Regions from separate parts of the Homo sapiens genome. Here regions 1 and 3 are each linked to region 2. The links are contacts of gene promoters, found by promoter capture Hi-C in blood cells and fetal thymus (Javierre and others, 2016). All regions are on one chromosome and are shown on one strand. The core of a region is centred on a gene start or on the middle of the fragment in contact, and the rest is flanking DNA. Distances in the headings are between cores, read along the strand shown.

Region 1 (3,314 bases), core at 556-3,055, 82 kb after region 2:
TTGGTGGGTGACTACCTCTCTGTGCTTCAGTTTCCCATGGCTGGAATACTTACCTCAGGGACATATGCAGATCCAAAGACCTAAACAATGTAAAGTGCTTTTTCTCTTTTAAAAGTATAGCATTATCTTGTATATATTTTACCCAATCAATATGTTGTTTATAGTTTCATTGCTTTAAACTTTATAAAAAGAGCTTCAGGCCAGGCGTGGTGGCTCACGCCTGTAATCCCAGCACTTTGGGAGGCTGAGGCGGTCAGATCACCAGAGGTCAGGAGTTGGAGACCAGCCTGCCCAACATGATGAAACCCTGTATCAACTAAAAGTACAAAAAAAATTAGCTGGGTGTGGTGGCAGGTGCCTGTAGTCTCAGCTACTCAGGAGGCTTAGGCAGGAGAATTGCTTGAACCCAGGAAGCGGAGGTTGCAGTGAGCCGAGATTGTGCCACTACACTCCAGCCTGGGTGACAAAGCGAGACTCCATCTCAAAAAAAAAAAAAAAAAAAAGTTTGAGACTTCCTTCTTTTTGCACTCAACGTTGTTACTAAGATTCATCTACATTTTTTTAGTTCATTCCTTTTTCCATATTGCATATAATTCCATGGGTGACTATACCCTGATTTCTTCATCAGATTGCCTTATTTACTGCTGCGAACATTCTTGCACACATGCCCTGGTACGTGTGTGTGTTTTTAGGGGCCGAGACAGGTGGATCACCTGAGGTCAGGAGTTCGAGGTCAGCCCGGCCTACATGGTGAAACCCCGTCTCTACTAAAAATACAAAATTTAGCCAGGCATGGTGGCATGCACTTGTACTCCCAGCTACTTGGGAGGCTGAGACAGGAGAATTGCTTGAACCCGGGAGGCAGAGGTTGCAGTGAGCTGAGATCGAGCCACTGCACTCCAGCCTGGGTGATGAAGACGAGACTCTGTCTCAAAAAAAAAAAAAAAAAAAATCAGTCAGGCTTGGTGGTGCACGCCAGTAGTCCCAGCTACTCGAAAAGCTGAGGCAGGAGGATCGCCTGAGCCCAGGAGGTCGAGGCTGCAGCGAACCATGTTTGAGCTACTGGGCTCCAGCCTGTGCAAAAGTGAGACCCTGTCTCAGAAAAAAAAAGAAGTAGTTAAAGCAAAACTCCCACTGAGTTACTTGTTGACACCAAGTGTCATCAGAGTACTTTCTTAGAACATGGCCTGATTCAGAATTACTTTTATTATTATTAGTGGCAGAGACTAGCTAGTGGCCCTTAAACAGCTTTGCCCTTCCTGGGTGTACAGCTAAACTAAGTTTCCTGGCCTTTCATGTGACTGGGGTCATGTGACTGTTTCCAGCCAGTGAGGTGTGAGAAGAAGAGAGGAAGCCCATTTCCAGGCCAGATCCCTCAAATGGCCCATTGAGGGTCATTGCTGCCCTTTTTCTTCCCTTGCTGACTGGCAGTTTGTAGAACAGGGGATCCATCTAAGTACCCTAAGAGAAGGTAGAGCTACAGACTGGAAGAGTCTGAACCTCTGACTCATCCCATGGATGGCTGCCCATTTGAGCTGAGTTAGGAGAGAGAAATCATTTAATGTGGTAAGCCAGTAAGATTTAAGAGCTGTTTAACATACTATTTTGTTATGTTATGAGTAGCATTCAGATTGCAGATCCAGCTTCTGAATAAGCTCAAGAACTTTAACTTCTATCCCTATGGCCTATGCCCAGGGGAAGATGGGACTTAAAGGGTGTTTGTAGAAATCATGGTAGAAAAACTTACATACATATGTGTATATATATATATAGATACAAAAAAAAACTATACATATTTAAAAATACTGCAAGGTTGTGGTTTCCTGAGCAGGATGGATTGGGCAGACAAAATCAGCAATGCCCCTGCTCCTGAGAGAGGCCTCGCCATCCCTGTTCCATAAGTCTTGAGTCTGCACTGGTTCTCTGAGTCATATTGGATCCCTGATCATCTGCAGCCTGGTGTCCTAAGAGCAAGCCACATAGCTGGGGGGCAGAGGCTCAGCGGCTGGGATAAGGCTGTTCTCATAAGGGTTGGAGTAGGGGCCATCGGATAAGCCCCCTTGGGCTCCCTGGGAGTCCCCTGAGCTGTAGTCAGTTGAGATGCCAGAGTCAGATACCACAAGGTACAGGTACTTTAGGTGGGGTGGGGTAGGGGGCAGCTCAGGGCACAGTGTCCATGGACGCAAGAGCTGGGAGCTGGGGTCCAGGATAGTGTACTCAAAGCTGGCAGCAGAGGCTCCCTCTGGGCTGGGCTTCGAGGCCAAAGCAGATGAGCAGGAGGATGCTTCTGAGCCTTCATCCATGGCCACTATGTCCACACTGCCACCAGGCCCTGGGAGGTCCTCACTGGGCGGGTTCCGGGGCAGCAACCATTTGTCCAGCACCAGATAGGTATCCTGGGCATGCTCACTGCCCACTGGCTCCAGCAGGGGGCCCTCATCATCTGTCCCCGGCTCCACTGCCTGCATCGTCCCCCAGCAGCGCTCTGAGAGGACTTCCAGGGAAGCAGGTGGGTCCTCCGTGAAGGGGGTGCAGGGGCTCCACCACAGGCAGCCATCATTCTGGTACAGCCACAGCTGAAGAAATAGCACCAACCTGCTCAGAGAGGCCTGCAGTTTGGCTGCAAGAAGCAGGGAAGCCCAGGCACTGAGGGGACAACCAGGCCACCTACCTGGAAGTTACCCTTGTGGGTGGTGAAGAGGCCTTCAAACTCGCTCTCTGGGCTCGGGATGCCAGGCCAGATCTTCTGCTTCAGAGCCCTGTTGAAGCCAATATAAATAGTTACATAGATATGACTCATTGAATACTCACCAATTCCCCCTCCACTCCCAGTCATAGAGGCACAGATACACTTGGTCCCTGTGATCACAATGGAGGCAGAGGAGTACATCAGGGCCAGGGGACAGGGGTTTTGGCTGAAGCATCAGCAAGGCCCTACAAAAGGGTAAATGGAACAGGGTATTGAAGGGTGCATAGGAGTTCAATATACCTTGGTCATTCTCCCTTTAATCCTGGCCATGGCCAGGTGCAGTGGTTTACACCAGCACTATAATCCCAGTACTTTGGGAGGCTGAGGTGGGAGGATCATTTGAACCCAGGAGTTCAAGACCAGCCTAGGAAACATAGTGAGACCCCCATCTCTAAAAAAAATAAAATAAAATAAATTAAAAAACCCAAAACCCTGGCCCAGATTTTTCCAGGAGGTCCATGATGTCACTTCATAGATAAATATTATGTTACCTTCTGGGGTAATGAGAGAAGGCATTTAGGATAAAATCCAAGCCAGGCACGGTGGCTCATGCCTATAATCCCAG
Region 2 (3,624 bases), core at 443-2,942:
TGGTCTCGGCTCACTGCAACCTCCGCCTCCCGGGTTCAAGAGATTCTCCTGCCTCAGCCTCCCGAGTAGCTGGGACTGCAGGCACCCGCCACCACAACCGGCTAATTTTTTGTATTTTTAGTAGAGACAGGGTTTCACTGCATTAGCCAGGATGGTCTCGATCTCCTGACCTCGTGATCTACCCACCTCGGCCTCCCAAAGTGCTGGGATTACTGGCGTGAGCCACCGCGCCTGGCTTCAAATGACCTCTTAAATAAAGGTGTGGAAGGACACACTCCTGGCTGTGAACAGCACCCGTGGTCCAGGAGGAGACAGCACTCCTCTGTGAACATCTTGCTTAGTTCTACATGTTCCAAGAAGCAGGCGATTTGACAGACATTCATTAAATTAATTAAAGTGTAAGGTATTTTCTCCCATTTGAACCATCCGCCTTCCCCCAATCCATGCAGGACCTGGACCCAGACACACCCCAGCCCAGGGCTGGACAGAGAGGGGATCGGGGTGGGGCAATGTGAAGCTGCTATGGTTAGGGTGGGGAGGTATGGGGGCAAAGTGGGCTACAGACTGCAGGATCTAGGCCTGGAGGTCTTCAGTGCTGACATACAGAAGGTTTTTGGTCCTGAAATGCTAACTACATCTATCACCATGGAGAAAAGCCCAATGACCTGCTACTTGGGAGGCTAAGGTGGGAGGATCACTTGAGCCAGGGAGGTCGTGGCTGCAGTAAGCCATGATCACACCACTGCACTCCAGCCTGGGCAATGGAGCAAGATCCTGTCTCAAAAGAAAAAAACCCAGTGACCAATGGCTCACAGTTCCAGGACTCTCTGCCTTACAGGTTCCTGCCCTCATGTTACTCTTGGGGCTTCAAAGCCTGGTCTTGCTTCCTGTGTGGCCTCAGGCAGTTCCCTTGGCCTCTCTGAGCCCTGTATGAAGGATGGGCCAAGTATGGGCTTGGGCTTGGGAGGCCCGGTGGCTTGTAGCTAGATTTCTGCATCACAGAGCCTCTGGATCCATTCATTCATTCTCCGCGGGTTTCTTAAGTACTGCAGTGCCAGGCTTTGGGGACACAGCTGTTTTTGTTTTTGTTTTGTTTTGTTTGAGACAGAGTCTCACTCCGTCAACCAGGCTGGAGTGGAATGGCACGACCTCAGATCACTGCAACCTCCACCTCCTGGGTTCAAGTGATTCTCCTGCCCCAGCCTCCCAAGTAGCTGGGATTATAGGCGTGTGCCACCACACCCAGGTAATTTTTGTATTGTTTGTATTGTTAGTAGGTCTCAAACTCCTGACCTCAGGTGATTCGCCCGTCTCCGCCTCCCAACATGCTTTGACTACAGGTGTGAGCCACTGCGCCTGGCAGGGGTCACAGCTGTTAATAGGACAGCCCAAGTTCCCCCCTCCCCCGCTTGGATCCCCCAGTCTACTAGGAGATGTCAACTGTGCAAGTGGTTAGCTCTGGGCACTATGCCCACAGGGTCCTGGTGGCATCTGGAGGGTACCAGGGTAGCATACCATGCCTGTTCTCTTTCCCTGCTGTGACCTGTTTGAAGGATGAGGAGCCAACAGGGGGCAGTTTGGGGCACCTGATTTCCCTGGACCATGAGCCTTGCTCCAGAACCCAATTGTGATGTGATAAAAGGCTTATGACCAGGGCAGGGGGCAGCTGCTGGGCCGCCTTGGACAACCATCAGGCAGCCAGGACACAGAGGGGCAGAGCAAGTCAGCATTGGCGCCCCTTCCTCAGATCCCTATCATCTTGGGAAACAGTAGCCCAGAGGTTCAGGAAGATGTTAACTTAAATGTTCAGGGTGCCCCAGTCTGTTCAGCATGGCTGAAATCCACACTCCGTATTCTTCCTTGAAGAAACTGTTATCTTTACTCAATGGCTTCGTGGCTGTAAGTATGTCACAATCCAGGCCCCTGGTTTGTTGCAGCCCTTCCTCCACAGTCAGCTCCCTGAAAGACAGAAATAAGTTGATCCAAATTGGCATCGAGATCTGTGGTTCCCTGGAGAAGCAGGAGGGATGTAGGGCAGACGGAGGAGGAGGAGCAGGGAGCGTGGGGACCTCCATCAACCGAGAGCTGGTGAAATCCAGCACAGATGAGTGTGATCTGGGGGAGCCCAGGTGGGTGATGGAAGAGCTTGGCTCTAAGTCAAATCCTGTAGCCGACCAAGTTGTTTGGGAAGGCCAGGAGAAAGGGTTATTTTCTTGATCTTTTAAATTTGTCACATTTTTTTCCTTACCGTAAAAGTAACCCGAAATGTACATTGCTAAGGAATTGTCAGGCCGGGGGCGCTGGCTCATGCCTGTAATCCCAACGCTTTGGGAGGCCAAGGCGGGTGGATCACGAGGTCAGGAGTTCAAGACCAGCCTTGGTCAATATGGGGAAACCCCATCTCTACTAAAAATACAAAAAAATTAGATGGGCGTGGTGGCACGTGCCTATAATCCCAGCTACTCAGGAGGCTGAGGCATGTGAATTGCTTGAACCTGGGCGGCAGAGGTTGGCAGTGAGCCGAGATTGTGTCACTGCACTCCAGCCTGGGCAACATAGCGAGACTCTGTCTCAATAAAAAAATAAAAGAATAAAAACATAAAAAGAAGTAATTGTCTTCATTGTAGCATAGTCTAAGGAAAAGCTGCCAGGAAAGAGAAGGAAATGAAATATCACTCCTCCTCTTCACTTGTAACATTTTAAAGAGAATTAAGGCCGGCTGTGGTGACTCATGCCTGTAATCCCAGCACTTTGGGAGGCCGAGGTGGGCAGATCCATTGAGCCAGGAGCTCGAGACCAGCTATAGTGAGATCCCCATCTCTATTTAAAAAATAATAATACAAAATAAAGTGTTATTGGAACATGGCCGTGCTCACTTATTTGGAGATTGTGAACAGCTGCTTTTGGGCTACACCAATAGAACTGCGTAGTTTCAACAGACACCTTAAGTCCTGCAGAGGCCACAACATCTGGGTTTTTCAGAAAAAAAAAATTGCTAATCCCTGTCCTATGACATTATTTTATTTTATTTTATTTTATTTTATTTTGAGACGGAGTCTTGCTCTGTCACCCAGGCTGGAGTGCAGTGGCATGATCTCAGCTCACTGCAACCTCCACCTCCCAGGTTTAAGCGATTCTTCTGCCTCAGCCTCCTGAGTAGCTGGGATTACAGGTGCCCACCACCACGCCCGGCCAATTTTTGTATTTTTAGTAGAGACAGGGTTTCGCCATGTTGGCCAGGCTGGTCTCGAACTCCTGACCTCAGGTGATCCACCTGCTTCGGCCTCCCAAAGTGCTGGGATTACAGGTGTGAGCCACTGTGGCTGGCCTATTTTATTTTTTGAGACAAGGTCTTGATCTGTCATCCAGGCTGGAGTACAGTGGCACAGTCATAGCTCACTGCAGTCTCAACCTCATGAGCTAAAGTGATCCTCCCACTGCAGACACCTGAGTAGCTGAGACTACAGGCACGCACTACTACTGGCTATTTTTTTTTTGTTGGGGAGAGGGTACAGATGAGGTCTTACCAAGCTGGTCTTGAACTCCTGGGCTCAAGTCTTGGCCTTGGCCTCCCAAAGTGCTGGGATTACAGGCATGAGCCACCGCACTCACCCAGTTCTATTT
Region 3 (3,667 bases), core at 1,142-3,641, 120 kb after region 2:
GCGGGCATGAAGCTGGGGTCCTGCTCACGGTCTCCAAACACCAACTCTCCCACCAGCCGCTCCAGGCGCGCTGCCCTCAGCACCCTCACCTTGCTGGTTCGATAGTGGAGGAAGGTATTGGCAATGGGGCTGGGAGCCTGCAGGAGGGGAGAGGTGGCCATGAGAGAGCAGGAGTGGTCCTCACAGCACCCCTTCTCTAGTCACATTCATCACTAGCACCACTCTTTTTTTTTTTGTTTTTTTTTTTGAGACAGAGTCTCACTCTGTTGCCCAGGCTGGAGTGCAGTGGCACGATCTTGGGTCACTTCAACTTCTGCCTCCTGGGTTCAAGCAATCCTCCTTCCTCAGCCTCCAAGTAGCTGAAACTACAGGCGCACACCACCAAGCCCAGCTAATTTTTGTATTTTTGTAGAGATAGGGTTTCACCATGTTGGTCAGACTGGTCTCGAACTCCTGACCTCAAGTAATCTGCCCCCCTTGGCCTCCCAAAGTCTCCCAAAGGGCTAGGATTACAGGCGTGAACCACCGTGCCCAGCCCCTAGCACCACTTTTTTTTTTTTTTTTTTGAGACAGAATCTCACTCTGTCACCTAGGCTGGAGTTCAGTGGCGTGATCTTGGCTCACTGCAACCTCCGCCTCCTGGGTTCAAGCAATTCTCTGCCTCAGCCTCCCAAGTATCTGGGATTACAGGCACCCGCCACCAAGCCCAGCTAGTTTTTTCGTATTTTTAGTAGAGACGGTGTTTCACCGTCTTGGCCAGGTTGGTCTTGAACTCCTGACCTGATGATCCACTTGCCTCGGCCTCCCAAAGTGCTGGGATTACAGGCGTGAGCCACCTCGCCCCGCCTGTAGCACCATTCTTTCATGTGATTCCTCTGTCTCCCGGCTTCTTGGAGTTATTGTTTTGGTTTGTTTTTTTTAGAAACAGGTCTTGTTTTGTTGCCCAGGCTGGGGTGCAGTGGCACAATCATAGCTCACTGCAGCCTCCAAGTCCTAGACTCAAGCGGTCCCTCTGCCCCAGCCTCCTGAGTAGCTGGGACCACTGCTGGGCATCATCACGCACAGCTAGTTTTTTAATTTTTATTTTTATTAGAGAGAATCTTGCTGTGTTGTCCAGGCTGGTCTCCAATTCCTGGCCTTCTGCCTTGGTCTCTCGAAGCGCAGGGATTATAGGTGTGTGCCCCACTCCCTGCCCGCTTGAAGTTATTGTTCCTCCCCATCCACAAATAGCTCCTGCAACTTGCCCTGGAAACCCTCCCTCTCCCATGCCCTGTCCCCTACTCCCTCTCCCGTCCCCTCCCCCTCCCGTCCCCTCCCCCCACCCCCCCGCCCCCGCCCCACACACTCTTTTCCACCCAGGGCTTCCCTCAGCCCTCCTGTCGCGCTTCACTGGCTGCCCCATCCGCCCTCACCTAGCCACTTCTAAACCAACCCCATTCCACCTTCCAGCCCCGGCCCTCTAAACCTGCCTTTCCCAACTCTGCCGTCCAGTTCTGTCCTTACCAAGTTGTCCCTAGGCTCCTCTCGGGAACTGCGCGGCCATCGCCTGGCCCCACCCCATTCCCTGGATCTCCCCCCACTTACCTGGCCGCCCCCAGTCCCCTTTCTACCTGGTCGCCTCATCTGGTCGCCTCCGAGCCCCTCCCTTCCTTCCGCCCACTGCACCTGGCGGCCTGTGCTCGGCTCTCCAGCTCCGCCCTCAACTGGTCGCTTCCGGCCCCGCGCCACCCACCAAACCCCCTCCTCACCTGGCTGCCCCCGGGGCCCTCCGCCGGGCTCCTGCGCTGACTGCGCTGCCGCCGCAGGGAGACACTGTACACCGCGCCGTCCTCGGTCTCTTCACCCCAGTCCTGCAGCGGTGCCTGGACGCACAGGCGGACTCAGGGCACCAAAGGGGCACAGGTCCTGGGGCCTCAGCCTCCTTGGCCGCTCGGACTCGGGCCGAGTCCTCCTGCTGCATCCCCACGCCCCTTCCCGGCCAGAAGCTGCGAGACTAGGGCTGGGGTCCCAGGCTAGTCCCCTCCTCGCTGCGGGTCCCCTCCTCCCAGGTCCTGAGGACATGGGGTGGCATTTGGGGATGTCCCAGGGCCCAGTCTAATAGAACCTGTCTCTAGCTCTTTCTGCCGACTGCGCTCAGAGACTCGCGCCCCCATCCCTAAGAGGAACCAGTCGCTTCACTGGGTCAAGGGCCGCGAGTCCCCAGGAGGGGACTCCAGGGCAAGTTCAGATTGGGAGCAGATACCGTCCGACGGGCGGGCGCTTGGAGTTTCTGGACCTGCGGGTCACCAGGGATGCGGGGTCCGGGGATCCCTTGTCCCCTTACCAGGGCCAGCTCTTTGCCTGCTGTGCGCTCCATGGCCGGCGCCCGTCCCTCTCAGTGGCGCCGCTGAGTGAGGCGGAAGGGCCGGCGGGTGGCGGGTGGCGGGCGGCGGGCAGTGGCCGGGCGCTGAGGCCAGAGGGGCGGAGCGGCCGAGCTGCTGGGGCGGGGCGGGGCAGGGCAGGCCGGACCCAGCCTCTGGGTGCCTCCAGCCGGACCCAGCGCCAGCCCAGGAGAGGTCCTGGCTCTTCCGCTGGGTGCCTATCAATCTGTCCCCAGAAGAAAGGACATATCTGTCCCCAAGGGGTCTTTTTTGTATCCCCAGATGTGGGGGAGCTCCTGTGTGGGGGCATGTGTGTGTCCCCAGACCAGAGTCCTCTGTCCTCCAGTGGAAGGGGCTAGCTTGATCAAGTGTGGGGGCATCTTCCACTTTTTATTATTATTGCTATTATTTTGAGATGGAGTCTCGTTCTGTCACCCATGCTGGAGTACAGTGGCTTGATCTTAACTCACTGCAACCTCCGCCTCCCAGATTCAAAGGATTCTTGTGCCTCAGCCTCCCAAGTAGCTAGGATTACAGGTGCCGCCACCATGCTCAGCTAATTTTTGTATTTTTTGTAGAGGCGGGGTTTTGCCATACTTGCCAGGCTGGTCTCAAACTCCTGGCCTCAAGAGATTCGCCCACCTCAGCCTCCCAAAATGCTGGGATTACAGGCATGAACCACGGCGCCCAGCCTTATTATTTTTTAGAGACAGGGTCTCACTCCTGTTGCCAAGGCTGCAGTGCAGTGGCTTGATCTTGGCTCACTGCAATCTCCGCCTCCTGGGTTCAATCCATTCTCCTGCCTCAGTCTCCCAAGTAGCTGGGACTACAGGCATATGCCACCATGCTCAGCTTTTTTTTTTTTTTTTTTTTTTTTTTTTTTTTTTTTGGTAAAAACTGGTTTTCACCATGTTGCCCAGGCTAGTCTGGAACCCCTGGGCTCAAGCGACACACCCAGCTCAGCCTCCCAAAGTGCTGGGAATATAGGTATGAATGAGCCACTGCACCCCGCCCTTATTTTATTTATTGAGACAGGGTCTGGCTCTGTGGCCCAGGCTGGAGTGCAGTAGCACGATCATAGCTCACTGCAGCCTGGAGCTCCTGGACTCAAGTGATCCTCCCAACTCAGCCTCCCAAAATACTGGGATTACAGGCATAAAACCACTACATCGGGCCATCTCCCATTTTTAAGCTCCATCTGCGTCACTAGCTGATGGGAGTCATCATGACCCAGGTTGGAGGAGGCAGTCTGTGGCCCTGGGTTTTCAGGGACAGCCGTCTCTTGGGTGGTGCAGGGTCAAAAACAG

The links. The method cuts DNA at HindIII sites, captures the fragments that hold promoters and counts their contacts. A CHiCAGO score of 5 or more calls a contact.
Region 1: a fragment that was not itself captured here is called in contact with the fragment with the promoter of TSPAN16 in region 2 in 7 of 17 cell types (M0 macrophages, megakaryocytes, monocytes and 4 more); the score reaches 11.6 in M0 macrophages.
Region 3: the fragment with the promoter of RGL3 here is called in contact with the fragment with the promoter of TSPAN16 in region 2 in 10 of 17 cell types (neutrophils, erythroblasts, monocytes and 7 more); the score reaches 11.8 in neutrophils.

The regions. Positions count from the first base shown.
Region 1 is chr19:11,376,020-11,379,333 of GRCh38, forward strand. EPOR (erythropoietin receptor) reads right to left here. Exons shown (of 8, transcript NM_000121.4): 7 at 2,672-2,759; 8 at 1,188-2,576. The coding sequence ends at 1,965. It overlaps SWSAP1 (SWIM-type zinc finger 7 associated protein 1), which reads left to right. Exons shown (of 2, transcript NM_175871.4): 2 at 1-150. Among named protein-coding and RNA genes, the nearest start is that of SWSAP1, 3.0 kb to the left of the region's middle. The HindIII fragment of the contact is 5,258 bases long and covers 1-3,314 here.
Region 2 is chr19:11,294,468-11,298,091 of GRCh38, forward strand. TSPAN16 (tetraspanin 16) reads left to right here and starts at 1,693. Exons shown (of 7, transcript NM_001282509.2): 1 at 1,693-1,899. The coding sequence starts at 1,831. The HindIII fragment of the contact is 19,527 bases long and covers 1-3,624 here.
Region 3 is chr19:11,416,923-11,420,589 of GRCh38, forward strand. RGL3 (ral guanine nucleotide dissociation stimulator like 3) reads right to left here and starts at 2,392. Exons shown (of 19, transcript NM_001035223.4): 1 at 2,324-2,392; 2 at 1,749-1,862; 3 at 1-137. The coding sequence starts at 2,356. The HindIII fragment of the contact is 8,157 bases long and covers 1-3,667 here.